2 separate regions of the Homo sapiens genome follow, and region 1 is linked to region 2. Evidence: promoter capture Hi-C in human tissues and cell types (Jung and others, 2019). All regions are on one chromosome and are shown on one strand. Each heading gives the region's core, a stretch centred on a gene start or on the middle of the fragment in contact. The rest is flanking DNA. Distances are from core to core; before and after follow the strand shown. Region 1 has its middle 17 kb from the start of CST8. Region 2 holds the start of CST9L (cystatin 9 like).

Region 1 (3,090 bases), core at 522-3,021, 61 kb after region 2:
CTGGAACTCAGATGCAGGGTCTGTGAGGTTACTGCAGAGCCAGCCTCTGCTCTGACCTCACTTCCCACTGGCCAGTCTGCTCCCATGGCCCAGCCAAGATGTTGAAACTCGCTTCCTTGTGCTAAAACATGGCTAAGAAAGAAAGCTGTTAGCTAGGATTGACCACAAGGTAGCCAGACACTGCCTGCCTGAAAAGATGGATAGAATACTGAGGGGAGAGTGTTTCCCTGCACTCTTCAGCCTCTTTGCCTCCCACTACCCAAGCCTGGCCCCACAGCTGTGGGCAGTTACTCAGACCACATGGCTCCTTTGATCATGACCCATTGCCCTGTTCATTCCCTCTGTCCTCTTTTCCGCATGGCTTCCTTAGGCCCTGGTCTTCCCACAGCTTGGGCTGAGCCTGCCAGGATGCAGCCAGGGAGGTGGGAGGCTGCCAGTCACTGGGAAGCAGCCCTGGCTCAGGAGGGACAATGGTGTGTGCGTGCATGTGTGTGTGTGAGAGAGAGAGGAGTTTCTGAAAACGGGGTACTGACCCCAGGATGGGGATGCTTCCTGTGTGATTGGGGTCAGGGTGTAGGAGCAGAGGAGGGCAGAAGGCCTTGTGTGGAGAGCATCTAACAGCTCTGGGCAGGGTGGGAGCACAAAGGCACTGTCAGCCATCACCACCACCAGCAGTGCTGCCAGGTCCGCACAGGAGGCTGTCCAGACGCTGAAGTCACCTCTCCCCTACTGGAGGCCTGACACCAGTCCCTCCATGGGAGAGAGCAGATGCTTAGGTGGGCCTGAAGAGCGGCTCCCGTTCACCCTGTGGGAGGTTGATGGCATTGAGTTGACCCAGCCCCAGTACATCCAGCTGAAGCTTGTGAACTCGGCACAAGTTTATTTTTGTTACTTCTCTTTGGTCTATGAAGAAAAAAACAGCTAATTTTGAGGGTGAGAAAAATGCACCAAGTAATGACAGAGATAGTGTGAGTTTTGCTTTAAATCTATTTTATGGCCCTTTGATTATGACAAAAAAAAAAGAATTATCTGGCTGTGGTTTTGTGACAATAATTATACAGTGGGCACTGACTGAGCTAGAGGATGCTGGAGGCGGATGAGGTCGTTTTGACCCTTCCCCCCTTAGTTTCCCATCTCATCCCCAGTCCTGCCAGGAAATTGGAGACAAATTCCACAGGGTATCTGAGGAGAGGGAACAGAGGGATATTTGCAAAGGAAAACCAACAACGGAGGGTAAAGGACCCACAGTCAGTGAAAGGGGCACGTGCACCATCCCTAGACCCCACGGGTGAAGGATGCAGTGGTGGCCAAGCCCAGTGTGTTAGTTTCCCACGGCTGCTGAACAAATACCACCGCCTTGGCAGCTGACAGCACAAGTTTGTGATCCTACAGCTCTGAAAGTCAGAGTCAGGACGGGCTCACTGGGCTCTGGACAGTGTGGGGGTGGGGGGGGGGGGTGCTGCATTCTTCCAGACGCTCTAGGAAAGAACCCATTTCCTTGCCTTTCCTGGCTCCTAGAGGCTGCCCACAGTCCTTGCCTCATGGCCTTCTGTCTTTCAAGCCTGCAGTGAGTGGAGTTCTTCTCATATTGAATCACTTCAGCTCTGACTCCCCTACCATTCTACCATCTTTTAAGGAATTTGGGCTTATCTGGATAATCCAGATAATCTTCCTATTTTAAGGTCAGCCTATTAGCACCCTTAACTCCCTCTGCAACCTGAACTTCCCCTTACCAGCTTGCATAATATATCCACAGATTTCAGGGCTCAGGATGTACACATCTCTGGAAGCATTGCTCTGCCTGCCACACGCACTAGGGGTTGCTGTAGGTGGCGGGGAGGGACTGCCCAGCAGGAGCGCTGGCCCCTGGCGGAAGAATGCAGCTGCTGTTAAGTGGGTTCCAGCAACCAGTAAGAAATATCCCAACACTGGCTCCAGCTGCGCTCATATTTCCGCATGCTCCCATTCCCCAAAATTAGCCAAATGCAGCCATCAGTGGAAGGGCTAGGGAGCCTGTTAATGGAGTCCAACAATGGCAGACTCCCAGGACCCAGAGCTGCCTGTCAGTGAGAACAATGAAGCCTAACACCAGAGTGGAAATGAATATAGAATTTATTATAGATATGTATTAAATATATATATATACTCTAAATATATATTTACACACATATACACGTATGCCTACATATGATTCTGGAGTTCAGAAGGATGTAGCACAAATATGAAACATCTACTAAAAATGAAATTTTTAATTCACCTAAAGATACAAAAGTAGAAAGACCAATTGGGAGTTTATTACAGGTGGGAGTGAAATGTATTCAAAGGAAAGAATAAACTCCCTCAACAGAGTAAGTAAAAATACTGGGACATGTGTGAACAAGGCATGTGCATGCAGTTACCCAAGCTCCAAGAACTGCCAACCTAATGTTTATGGTGTTCAAGGTTTAGACCATAGATGAAAGCTCCAAGAGCCAGGGCACCCCAAACCTTAACGAGTCACATCGGGGCAGGGGGAGGAGAACTTCTCTTCGCCAATGAGACAGTTCCCCTAAATCCTCAATGAAACAAGTTCTTCTTGGAGCTGATGTGGCTGAGAACTCTTGGGACCCTGTGTTGATGGCACTAAAAGAGAAAGGAAAGAAAAGCCAGAGGTAAGACTCAGGAGTTATGAAGGGACCATTTCCCTGGCTATATATGATAGGTAGTCAGAACTTTAGCATGTAGGATTTGTAAATTATCTTTTATTTTTTTATTTTTTGCTACACTATTATGTGTTGTCTTACAGAAAAAAAAAATCTGTGTGATACCAAGATGCTGTTTTAGTGCAGAATATCAGGGATTTCTGAAGAATATGCATAGACAAAAGGAGGAGGTGTCTTGAAATTCAGAACATGGGGTATAGAAAGTTCTAAAATCCTATAACCATGGAATCCTCATAAGCTTCAGGAATGGGGAATGGGACTTCTTCAAACCATGCTTTTCTATAAAACTGGTAGGTCCCAAAAGAAAGCGAAGCTGTGGACCTCGGTCACTGTCCACACACCTACAGGCAAGCCTGCACCTGAAGGAGGAGTCTAGGACCCCCACAGC
Region 2 (3,084 bases), core at 250-2,749:
TTTCACCTGTTATCATTGCTAATCAGGACACAGGTTTCAGCTACTCTGTGTCACCCACTTCCTGGAGTCAAGGCAGAAGATCAAGATGCACATGGCTCCTGGGCAGCAGCTCCCCACACACTAGCTACTTTCTTCTGTCTGTGATGGGTGAAGTCTCCTGTGAGGAGACACTCGGGACCACCCCAGTGTTGGGTCAGGCAGCATGACTCTCTTCACCTGCAGCTGTCTTGACCTGGCCAGTGCTGTGCTAGTGTGGACAGATGCAGTGATGCTCTTCCCAGGCCTGGCCCTGCTGTGATCTGGGAACATGGTATGGGACACAGTCAGAACAGTTCTTGTAGAATCAGTCTCCCTGACTTGGGACTGAACTTTCTATTCTGTTATCTGGCAACAATGCTAGGTTCTTGCCTATATTGCAGCACCATAGTCTTCTCAGCCAAACTCAAAGCTCTCACTTTTGCATACTTCACCTGTCCTGCACTATTTAATGTTCATTCTTACAGCAACAAAATATTATTATTTCCTCTTTCAGGTTAGTTATTGCCAGGAAATTGATTTAAAAGTAACCACCTAGTATCACCTAAGTGCTGGCAAAATAGCTCACTCTAGAACACCAAGAAGGATGGTCAGATGGAGACAAAAATGATCAAGGGGCTGAAGAATGGTCCAACCTCTATCTCACTGAGGCAGAAACATGTGATCTCCCAGAGAAGTGTTTAAAAATTTGGTCTAGAATGATATTCCAGTCTAATAAAACATGAGTGTGTGTGGTGGGGCTGCAGATGTAGGGCGGTGGGCCCTGTAGAAACCTTGGCTCTGGCTCAGCTGGAACCAGGGCTGACAAGGTTTAGAAATGCAAGCAGGGCTGGGCTGGGCATGACCAGGCTGGGGCCTCAGGACTTGGGTCTCTGTCTTTCCTGCCCTTTTCTCACAATACTCATTGTCCATCCCAGGTCAAAATGGTTGATAAAAATTGCCATTTATTTTTTTCATTTTTTCCCTTGGTTCACAGAGTACAACTGTTGAGGTATTATACAACAAAAGAACAAACTGATATCTTAGTTATTTTTCTGAACAACGGAGATCCTCTCTTCGACGGGGTGAAGGAGGGGAGAGTGAGAGTCGAGATGTCCCCAGGTCTTATCTCAGTTCGCTGTGGGAGGCGAAGGCACAGAATCATCCAAGGACACCAAGCACCTGAGGACAACCAGAACCTGTGGGTTCTGAAGGAGCAGCCTTCAAAGCTAGTGGCAGAGGGTAGCTCCCCTCCTGCCTGTGGCTTGTGCTGGCCTAGAGAGTATAGGGCAGAAGGATGGCAGATGAGTGACTCCACATCCAGAGCTGCCTCCCTTTAATCCAGGATCCTGTCCTTCCTGTCCTGTAGGAGTGCCTGTTGCCAGTGTGGGGTGAGACAAGTTTGTCCCACAGGGCTGTCTGAGCAGATAAGATTAAGGGCTGGGTCTGTGCTCAATTAACTCCTGTGGGCACGGGGGCTGGGAAGAGCAAAGTCAGCGGTGCCTACAGTCAGCACCATGCTGGGCCTGCCGTGGAAGGGAGGTCTGTCCTGGGCGCTGCTGCTGCTTCTCTTAGGCTCCCAGATCCTGCTGATCTATGCCTGGCATTTCCACGAGCAAAGGGACTGTGATGAACACAATGTCATGGCTCGTTACCTCCCTGCCACAGTGGAGTTTGCTGTCCACACATTCAACCAACAGAGCAAGGACTACTATGCCTACAGACTGGGGCACATCTTGAATTCCTGGAAGGAGCAGGTTGGTGACCACGTACCCTCCTGCCCTGGCATCTGGCATGTGCTGCTCAGTGAAAAATGGGAGTGGGGTGGGGACAGGGGGTCTTATTGAAGAGTCTTGTTCACCAGTTGTAGTCCATACTTAAGAAAATACAAGGTAGTTTAGTTAGTTTTTGATTTTGAAAACATCTAAGTTAGAAATTTCAAATAATTTGATCCTAATCAACTCTCATGAAAAACATATTGTTTAATCTCCATCTTTTTATGACATTATTTAACTGAAGAATGACTTCAAAATGAGGACTACCAAGAAAATGAAGATACGGAATAAGGAAAAGGGCTGAACAGAAAATGTGAATAGAGAGAAATTGAGAAATACTTCCAAAAAATGTAATAAAAAAGAGATAATTTAAAAAATGAAAATTAAAAAAGAGAACAGTAAGGGTTCAGGAGCAATAAGAAACCCCCACCAGTCCCAAAAGACCTCTGGGTGGTCAGTTCCTCTTTGCTGATTTCCAACTTCTCTGAGCTCCTTGGTGTGTCTGCACTTAATAAACTGAAGACTGTTTCACACTCTTCCTCAGACCACAGGTCTTAATCCTAAATGTTCTCCTTTTAATGAAGTCACTACAGAATGCAATCAGGAATGCACAGTTCATCTGTGCTGTAGGCATGAACAATGAAAATAGTCACCAAGTTGAGGACTTTTTTTTTTTTTTTTTTTTGAGATGGAATCTTGCTCTGTCACCCAGGCTAGAGTACAGTGGCGTCATCTCCGCTCACTGCAAGATCCGCCTCCCAGGTTCAAGTGATTCTCCTGCCTCAGCCTCCCAAATAACTGGGATTACAGGCACCCGCCAGATGCCTGGTTAATTTTTTGTATTTTTAGTAGAGACAGGGTTTCACTATGTTGGCCAGGCTGGTCTTGAACTCCTGACCTCATGATCTGCCCACCTCGGCCTCCCAAAGTGCTGGGATTACAGGCATGAGCCACTGCACCCAGCTAAGTTGAGGACTTCTAGTTGGGTAGAGAGGCAAAAATGCTCTTCCTACCTCATTACTGAAACCTTGCAAGAAGAGCAAAAGGACCCCAACCCTGCACCAAGCTTCAGCCTCTGGAAAGACCCTGTGCAAGGCCCTGGCTGGTTCTCTGACCCCTGCTCTCTGGGCTGGAGCCTGCCACGTGGGTTCCTGGATGTGACAATTCCAGAGTCAGTTTTGGAGTTGGGGAAATGGACGGATAGGGAGAAAGGAGATGGAATGAAGTGAAACTGAAAGGAGTGAGAAGATCAAGGTGCACTTTGCAATAGGGCAGATGGTGTTTCTTTCTTTCT

The links. The method cuts DNA at HindIII sites, captures the fragments that hold promoters and counts their contacts. A contact is called where the count stands out against the background at its distance.
Region 1: a fragment that was not itself captured here is called in contact with the fragment with the promoter of CST9L in region 2 in 1 of the 25 tissues and cell types used here (dorsolateral prefrontal cortex).

The regions. Positions count from the first base shown.
Region 1 is chr20:23,506,307-23,509,396 of GRCh38, reverse strand. It overlaps a transcript of CST8 not described here. Among named protein-coding and RNA genes, the nearest start is that of CST8, 17 kb to the right of the region's middle. The HindIII fragment of the contact is 4,670 bases long and covers 1-3,090 here.
Region 2 is chr20:23,566,899-23,569,982 of GRCh38, reverse strand. It overlaps CST9L (cystatin 9 like), which reads left to right and starts at 1,499. Exons shown (of 3, transcript NM_080610.3): 1 at 1,499-1,772. The coding sequence starts at 1,533. The HindIII fragment of the contact is 10,231 bases long and covers 1-3,084 here.